2 separate regions of the Homo sapiens genome follow, and region 2 is linked to region 1. Evidence: promoter capture Hi-C in 16 types of primary human blood cells and fetal thymus (Javierre and others, 2016). All regions are on one chromosome and are shown on one strand. The core of a region is centred on a gene start or on the middle of the fragment in contact, and the rest is flanking DNA. Distances in the headings are between cores, read along the strand shown. Region 1 holds the start of STX2 (syntaxin 2). Region 2 overlaps ADGRD1 (adhesion G protein-coupled receptor D1).

What was found. Contacts are between HindIII fragments. The CHiCAGO score rates a contact against its expected background, and 5 or more counts as called.
Region 2: a fragment that was not itself captured here is called in contact with the fragment with the promoter of STX2 in region 1 in 1 of 17 cell types (naive CD4 T cells); the score reaches 5.1 in naive CD4 T cells.

Annotation. Positions count from the first base shown.
Region 1 is chr12:130,836,517-130,841,128 of GRCh38, reverse strand. It overlaps STX2 (syntaxin 2), which reads left to right and starts at 1,879. Exons shown (of 11, transcript NM_194356.4): 1 at 1,879-2,059. The coding sequence starts at 2,030. RefSeq lists silencers at 1,676-2,185, 2,256-2,315. The HindIII fragment of the contact is 18,553 bases long and covers 1-2,881 here.
Region 2 is chr12:131,000,026-131,004,637 of GRCh38, reverse strand. It overlaps ADGRD1 (adhesion G protein-coupled receptor D1), which reads right to left. Exons shown (of 25, transcript NM_198827.5): 9 at 4,196-4,255; 10 at 1,336-1,453; 11 at 342-452. Among named protein-coding and RNA genes, the nearest start is that of ADGRD1-AS1, 8.4 kb to the right of the region's middle. RefSeq lists an enhancer at 2,033-2,242. The HindIII fragment of the contact is 2,291 bases long and covers 1,132-3,422 here.

The DNA of each region.
Region 1 (4,612 bases), core at 630-3,129:
GGTTGGGCATGGTGGGCTCATGTCTGTGGTCCCTGTGCTTTTGGAGGCTGAGGTGGGAGGATTACTTGAGCCCAGGAGTTCAAGGCGGCAGTGGACTATGACCATGCCACTGCACTCCAGTCTGGGAGACAGAATAAGACTCTGTCTCAAACAAACAAACAAACAAACAAAAAGTTTTGGTTGCCAATTCAACACCATCCAGCTGCTGCCAATATTATCATATGTTTTTGAAAAATCCACTGGGAGAGAGGGAGAAACGAGGGAGGGCCCAGTATTTACCAGAGAGGGAGAATTAAAATGGTGGTGGCAGAGGCAAGAAGGCCGAAAGAAAAGCACTTGCCTGTTGCGGGGTCCAGGAGGCATTCTGGTGGGGAAGTTCAGGATATGGAGAGAAAAAACATATCTTTTTTTTTTTTTTGGAGACGGAGTCTCGCTTTACTGTCCAGGCTGGAGTGCAGTGGTGCGATCTTGGCTCACTGCAAGCTCCACCTCCCGGGTTCAAGCAATTCTCATGCATCAGCCTCCTGAGTAGCTGGGATTACAGGTGCCCGCCACCACACTCACCTGGACAACTGGCTGTCAAGACCTTCCATCGGGTAACAGAACCACATCACACCTAGAACCAAGTCCAAAACGTCCTGTTTTTTAATGTGTAGCCTGTTGCTCTCAAGCAGATTTCTTAGCGCTGCCTTCTGGTCAGACCAAAGCCACCTCCTCCAGGAGGCAGTAAAGACTTTAACCTTGTTTAAAAACAAATCTGGCCTTGCCTTCTCCTCCTGGAAGGCAATCTTTGTTTGCCTGGGAGTCTTCGGCTAGCCAGAGAGTAACAGTGTGATTTATGGTGGGGGCTTAGGGTTACATGGATATCACTTAACCAAGAGGCTGAGATCAAGCATGAAAGCAATCAAACAATCAATCAATCATGCACATGCAATGGAGCCCAGTAAACGTTCTGCACACTGTGGCTCAAGTGAGCTTCCCTGGCTGGCAGTACTTCGTGTGTAAGGCCACACATCAGTGCAGGGCAAGTAATGAGGCCTGACTACACAGGGAGAGGACCACGGGAGGACCTTGAAGCTGCACGCCGTAATCCCCAGACTCCCCCTCTGCCCTTCTTCCTTGGCTGATGTTAATCCGTATCATTTTCCTGCTAAGAAACCATAGTTGTGAGTACAGTAGTTTTTAGTGTATTCTGTGATTCCTTCTAGCAAATTATGGAACTTGAAGGTGGTTTTGGAAACCGCCAGAATTTGCCGTTGGTGTCAGAGGTGATAATGGTCTTGGGGACTGTTCCCCCAACCTGGGTAGTTCACCTAAGCTCCTGCACCTTCATGACGACCTCTCTGCCAGTTCCGTGCCCATGCCCTTACTTTCTTTTCTCATCTATCATTTATTTGTCTGTGTCTGTATTGCCTGTTTCTCCTGCCAGAATGGTATCCCAGGGCTGGGCCTGCGGACGCTCTTCCCGTTACCGCCCCCTGCCGTGTTATGCTCCGTAAGCATCATGTGTGGTACACGATCTCTTCTCCTTCATTCACACCCGAGGCTGCGCGTGGACCCTTAAAGAGAAGGTTCGGCATATGTATTACCCAAAGCTGCACCCAGCACATTCCGGGAGCTTTGCTCTTTTGTCACTATTCGTTGAATGCTCTATATTTTGATAAATAAAACAATGAGTGTGAAAGCATAAAAGCAGATCAAGGGACAAACAGCACGTGTAGCGGAACTGCCAGCCTGGGGCTCGGCCGGACCCCGCCCCTCCCCGCCTAGGCCCCGCCCCCAGGCCCCGCCCCTCCGGGCTCCCGCTGGAAAGCGCTGCCGCCGTGTGGGTGGGTGCGGGGCGCGGCGCGGGCCGGGCATGCGCAGAGCGCGCGGGGCGCGGTTGCCGTGGCAGCGCCGGCTCCAGGGAGGGCTGCTGGCGCCGGGCCGGGACCGCGGGGCCTGAGGCGGAGACCGGAGAGCCCGAGGCCCGGCCGGAGGCAGCTCGGGACAGGCTTGAGCGGCGGGGCGCGCTGCCCGGCCGGCGGGGATGCGGGACCGGCTGCCAGACCTGACGGCGGTGAGCGGCAGCCGCGGGTAGCGGTTCAGGCCCGGCCGGGGCGGCGTCTGGAGGGCGGGCGGGGGCTCGGGGCGTCTTGGGCGGGGCTCCGGGAGGGTCCCCAGGGCGGGGATCTCCGGCGTTCTGGGGCGGGGGCTGCGGGCAGGGTCTCAGGGAGTCCTGAGCGGGGACTGCTGGTGGGGTCCCCAGGGCGGGGGTCCCGGGAGTCCTAGGGTGGGGGCTCCGGGCGGGGTCCCCAGGGCTTCCTGGGCGGAGTCCTCAGGGCGGGTTGGGGCAGGAGGAGGGAGCGGGGAAGGTCCCGGCCTCGACCCCCTCTTCGAGCGTGGCTCCCTGTCCGTCACTCCGCTTGGCGGATTGTATCTGGCGCTTACCCAGCCGGAGCCCACTGGCCTAACTGTGGTCCGCCCCACGGGGTCCCCGCAGCTGGCGTCAGCCCCGGGGAGCAGGCCGGGTCCTCTTGGTCGCTGCTTTATCCCTGGGGCTTCACAAAGGACTGTGCACCAAGCGGGAGGCAACAGATGGGTGTGAAATGTGGGCACCTTAGAGTGCTGGGTGCTTGGGGTGGGGCGAGCGCGAACAGCAGCTTGTGTCTGATCTCCCAGTAGTTTGCTTTGGAAACTGGGACCGTGTGTTGACTCTGAACGCACCTTACGCGCCCAGCAGCCGGGCACACAGCAAGTTACTGTTTACTTTAGCAAGGGAAAAGCAGGTCACTAAAAATTTTGGAAGGATTTCGATGCATTCTACACGTGTAAAGGTGACAGGACTGTGCATGGTGCAGTGACAGCGGAATGATAGTGATGGTCGTGCACTTTCCAAGCTTGTCTAACCCAGGACGGCTTAGGCCAGCAGAAGTAGTTATGACTTTTTCCCTTTACAATACAGGTACTAATTCATGCTACGTGTGTGCACAGATAGAGCCTCTGGTCTCTAAATTGTTGGCAGCCTCAGAACAGGGGTGCTAAGGCCCACAGCCCTACGACACCCACTGCATGTAATGAATTATTCTCTCTCCTCTGCTGCTAGAATGGAGCTGTTATGTACCCCCGAGTGGGAGAATAGAGAAAAGAGCCACTTAAATCATTATCTGTGTTCTGTGGTTCAGATGAGGAGCTCTGGTTGAGAAAGGCAATGATTTCATCCTTAGGATCATGGAAATTATGCTTTATATTCATTCCAAGGAAGTTTCTTCACGGTGATTTTTCCTTTTTTATTAATGGACAAATATTCCCTGTGTTCCGCAGATCAATATCATCTTAAACACAGCAAATTATAGTTGTGTTGTCTTGCCCGATGGATTATCTTTCAGTGCCGTGTAGTAGGAGCTCAGGTATTTATTTAATGAAGAAAAGCTGTGGCTCACTCCTGTAATCCCAGCAGTCTGGGAGATCAGGGTGGGGGCATCACTTGAGCCCAGGTATTGGAGACCAGCTTGGGCAACACAGGGAGACACTGTTTCTCGAAAAAAATTAAAAAATTAGCAGGAGGCCAGTCGCAGTGGCTCATGCCTGTAATCCCAGCACTTTGGGAGGCCGAGTTGGGTGGACCACTTGAGGTCAGGAGTTGGAGACTAGCCTGGCCAACATGGCAAAACCCCGTTTCTACTAAAATAGCCGGATGTCATGGCGCACACCTGTAGTCCCAGCTACTCTGGAGGCTGCGGCAGGAGCATCGCTTGAATCCAGGAGGCGGAGGTTGCAGAAAGCCGAGATTGTGCCACTGTACTCCAGTCTGGGCAACAGAAAGAGACTCTGTTTCAGAAAAACCAACAAAACAAAGCACGCACAAAAAAACTATCCAGGTGTGACTCGCACCTGTAGTCCTTGGTACTCAGGAGGCTAAGCTAGGAGGATTCCTTGAGCCCAGGAGATAGAGGCTGCAGTGAGCCATGATTGTGCCATGCCACTGCACTCCCGCCTGGGTGACAGAGTGAGACATTGTCTCATAAAAAAAAAAAAAAAAAGCTCAATGTCATTGAACGTGAGAGCTGTGACTATTTTGGCAAAATACAGCCAAATTTATATGTTGGGGAATCGTGAGAAAGTACGTTTTCTTGGCTTGAATAGCAAAAAGCAAATAAGGCAATTATTTGTCACTCAGTTTCTATATATCCAAACCCTTCCTGAAACAGTAGAACATGTCAATCAGTTTTGTTCTAGAACGGCAGAGCTAGAAGTCAGCTCATCTACTTCAATACCATCCTGCTTTAGACACAGCAGCTGAGCAGTCAGAGAGTATATCCGTGGAAGTTTCCACTCATGGAGTTTCTCATCTTGGGCAAATAATTTTTAAATCTCTCAAAACTTTTTCTTGTACGTGAAATGGGGACAGTGGTATCTCTCTTGTCCACCTCATAGAGGGAGTTATGAAGCATAAAATTATCTAATGTGTGAAGCTCTGGGAGAAGGTGGGAGGGAGCAAGTGCTATGTAATTATAAGTGTGATTAATGTTTACCAGATTTTTTGTTTTTAGGGAGTTATAAAAAGCAGCCTTCTGGCTGGGCACAGTGGCTTTCACTTGTAGTCCCAGCACTTTGGGAGGCTGAGGTGGGC
Region 2 (4,612 bases), core at 1,028-3,527, 160 kb before region 1:
GGATGACTTCCCAGTGGGCCGGATTCCCCAGGCGAGCAGGTTGAGATGCTCCCAGACCCCACCCCAAATTCCAGTTCAGTGGCCTGGAGTGGGCACAGCATTAGCATCACTAAGGAACCTCTCAAGCGTGTCCATGAGGGTGGCCTGAGGACACGCTTTGAGAACGGCTGCCCACAGTCCCTCTCCTGCAGGACAGGACAGGCAGTCCGGGGGAGCACCGCAGGCGGCCCGGGGGAGCACCGCAGCTCCCTGGCGCGGTGGGCACCCAGCAAAGCTTGGGGACTCTTCAGAAAGACTTGAGGGAGCCGCCCCGGAAGGGAGTCCAGCGCAGCCACACTCACCGTGCCTGTGGAAGGCCTCGTGGGGGATCTGGATGAAGCTCTGCCCGTGGGCCGGGAAGCGGTAATGGGAGGAATTCACGGTCTTGGGCAGGATTTTGGCCACGGAAAACTCTGCGGTGGAAGGAGCGAGAGAGCGGAAGTCCCGTCAGAGCTCACAGGCTGCAGGAAATCAGACTGCAAAACCCCGTCTGCTTTTCTTTTTTGACAGGACAAGCTCCCCACGGGAAGTATAATTACCTTTAGAAAGCATGGCCTCAAAAAAAAAAAAAAAAAGGGTAAAGCAATGAAGAGCCCAGGCAGTGACTGCCACGGGGAGGCTCAGCATTCCGGCCCACGGGCGCGCGGCTCCTCACCTGGGGCGCCCTCCGCCCCAGCACAGCCCCCAGCTCTCAAGGCCGGTGCAAGGATGGGCTGTGCTCAGCGATGCGGTGACATCGGCTCCTCCCCAAGCGCAGCAGGCGAGGGCAACACGGCCAACAAACTGCGACTAAACTAACCCCTGTAGCTTCAGCCCATTTTCCCCAGCTCGGCTCTTGCAGCGAAGTATCAGCAGGATAATGCACTCCTGGTAAAGACTTTTAAAATCGAAAGGTCATCACCTCTGCCTCTACAATTAGACAACTGTGACAATTACCCTGGAGCCCAGCTGAGAGCAAGCTGACGCCAGAAACCCGAGGCCACCCCTTTTATTCCACAGACTCTTGCAGGCACTGCTGCTTCTGCCTCCTGCTCTGAACCGAGACCATCATCCCAGGGCAGGAGCTTGGCTCCCAAGTCACTGGGAAAAGCTTATGGGCCCCATCTGCATATCATGGCCGAACACACCTGCCCTCATCTGACCACGGGTTTTCCTTCCAAATGTGGTTTGTGCCAGGCAGAGCAGTCAGGGAGACAGAGCATGGCTCTCTGCTAAGGGTGTAAAAAGACAGGCAGTGAAACGCAGCCTCCAGCCCCCGCCCCTGCCATGTGGCTCACCCTTACAAGCGACAGCTACCTGCCATGGCAGAGGAGCCCTCCACGGTGACCTGGGGCGTGCTGCCGTGCAGGTTGGAGGATACATGGCCCATGACGGTGTCAATAGTGTCGATGAGACTCAGTACCACGGCGCTGTCCTGCAGCAACACAAGCACCAGGAGCCATGAAAATCCACCCCACTCAGCCAGGGCACCAGGCAGGTGCACCAGGCACACAAAATCAAGTTTCCCCACGTTGGCCACGAGGGAGGAAGAAGTCACACAACTGCCCCTTCCCATGGATCAGGAGGGGACCACACGGAGGCCACACACCCGACTGAGCTCACGGAGCATGGACACAGCCCAGGTGGACCCATCACCCCAGCCATCGCCGGCTCCTGCATTTCTACACTTAGACACGGGGACTGAGGGGACCCAACTCCTGGTCCTGCCTCCTCCCTGAACTCACAGAGGGACCCTCAGCACATCCCAGACCCTCCCCCTACCTCCCTGTGCTTCACGAGGAGGGGCTGATCGCCCCCAGGTCCACTCTGGGATGGGGACACCAGCAGCTCTGTCCCCTTCTCCATGAAGGGTGGCTGCTTCCGAGGTGCCGGCACCCAGAGCTATCTCTGGCTGCCTTGACTTCCCAGGAGCTTGCCTTCTACTCCAAGAGCCCTCTTTCCTTTCTGAGTTCCAGAGCAGAGGATCCTGGTAGACACTGCCCCCAAGAAAGCAGGGGGCCCTCATCCTCAGACACACATCACCAGGGGAGAGGCCTCTCTTAAGCCCTGCTGAGCTGGGCCAGTGAGCTCTGCCTTCACTGCTTCTCTTCCTGCCTTTCTGGGGAAGCACCTGCCTGCTGCTAAGTCCTCAGCATTCTCCCACAAACACGCACTTCAGAAGAGCCTCATGAGCTGGAAATAGAATGCTGAGGCCAATTTTAGATATTTGCTTTTAGGCCCATAGCCTGATTTCAGTCACCAGGCCCAGTTAAGCACATGGAAGTCTGTGTTTCTGGCATGCAGTTCTGTGGGGTAGAGACCGATTCATGCATTCTCTTTAATGCATATTGGACCCTGCCTGAGTCTGGACAGTTTCCTGGTTATTCATATTTTGTAACAGATTTGCATATTTTGCATTCAAAAGCAGTTAATTAAAATCATGCACAAAATACGTCTGCCTGGATACTTCCATTGGCTGTCCTCTGGGTGTTCCCAGCCTGCAGCTTTGGACACAAAGTCCCCTTGAAATCATGAAAGAGGTCAAACCTTTTAAAAAGGAATTGTTTTCTAGGTAAGACTGTATCCATCTTACATTCTTGAGCCTTTTTTTCTCCCTTTGCCACTGTTAAACCTAATCTCATTCCACTTGAAATTATTCAAACAAAAGTTTATCAAATGTAAACTCTAACGCAATCTTATTAATAATGAGAGAATAAAATGCCACTTCTGCCCTCAAACTGGCAAACATTTTCAAATATTATCAGGGCTTAGGAGAATGAGCACTTTAATATCATGGTGGTGTGGTTGGGACCCTTCTGGGCCAAGGCAGTTAAGAGTCCTCCTCACCCTTCTCTGCCCCTGCCTGGCAACCTTGGAAACCACATATTGAGAAGCCAGCACCGGAAGACAGATGGAGCCAGGATCCCTGAGTATCTGGGTGGAGAAGAGGCTCCTCTGACTCACTCTGGACTTTGCATGGCAGAGAAGTAAATTTCTACTGTGCTGAGCCACTGAGATGTAGGGATCTATTTGTTACTGCAGTGCACCCTGGCCTGTCCTGACTAATACAGTGTTGCAGGTGAATACTTAGTATCATTGGAAAGTGTTATTGACATAATTAAGGAAAAACAAATTAAGTCAAATATACAGTATATCTGTTGAATACATATATAAGTGAATTGAAAACTAGACTATAAGGAAATATACAAGAATGTTAATAATCTCAGTTTTAGGATTTGAAGTGATTTTTATTTTGTTTTTTATTATCTGCATTTTCTAACTTCTCCACAACTATTTATTTGTTTTCTTTTTAAATAAGTACAATCAAGTTATTTTCAGAAATATAGGAAAAATTATTTCATTCTCCTTTCTAGCTATTTTGAGTAAAGAGAACAAGAGAAGCTTTTTTTCTGCACCTTAATCATGAAGTACATATTGTCATGTATTCTCCTTTTTCTTACTAAATCCAGTGACTTTTAACATAAAAAGCTTTCTATTGTCATTCAAGAATGATGGGATGGTAAAGAAAAAAAAAATACATATTACATGAAATGACCAGGATGAACCAAGTACACATTTCTCATGGGGAAAAAACCATCATTTCCTTCTTCCATGTTTAGGACAGTAACACATTACTGACACACGTGCATTTCTTTTGCCTTAGAGGACAAGGCATTCTGAATCAGTTGCATGTCTACTCAAAATGAGCTCTTATATCCCAGATGTCAGGACTGGGAGATACATCATTCTTTTTGTGGATGTGACTGGGCCATATTATGCCACTTCTAGGAAGACAAAATGGTTCCCGAGGCACATACGTTTTGAAGATCAAAATGTTCTTTTCTCTCTCTCTCTTTTTTTTTTTTTTTTTTGTTTTTTGAGACAGAGTCTCACTCTGTTGCCCAGGCTGGAGTGCAGTGGCACAACCTCGGCTCACTGCAACCTCCGCCTCCCAGGTTCCAGCAATTCTCCTGCCTCAGCCTCCTGAGTAGCTGGGACTACAGGTGCCCGCCACCACGCCTGGCTAATTTTTGTATTTTTAGTAGAGATGGGGTTTTGCCACATTGGCCAGGCTGGTCTTGACTCCTGACCTCAAGTGATCCACCCGCCTTGGCCTCCCAAAGTGCTGGGATTATAGGTATGAGCCACCATGACCGACCATGTTCTTTTCTCTTACCTCTGACAGAGCAATCCAACCAGGCAGTAGAAGGATCTCTCCCACGGCTTTTAAGAAGGTCTAAAGGTGGACAAAATGACACTGCTCAGCACCTGTCCTTAGGCAACAAACTTGAAGACCTTCAGTTTTCCCCGCATCTTCCAATGGGTCTCTATCAACCACCAGTTCAGTTTTATGCACGGCAGTCAACAAAAATAGCTGAGTCATGGACCACATGATATGTTACGAAGCCCTTTTATGGACGTTATCTTATTTGCTCCTGTGGCAGCCCTGTCGAGTCAGTGACCAGCACCGGAACGTCAGAATGAACACTGCTCAGTGACGGCAGGGGCCCTAGCACAGCGCCTGGGGGACACGGCAGGCCCTCAGTGAAAGCCCGTGGAGTGGAGAGACGTGTGGGAAAATCATGACCTGCTG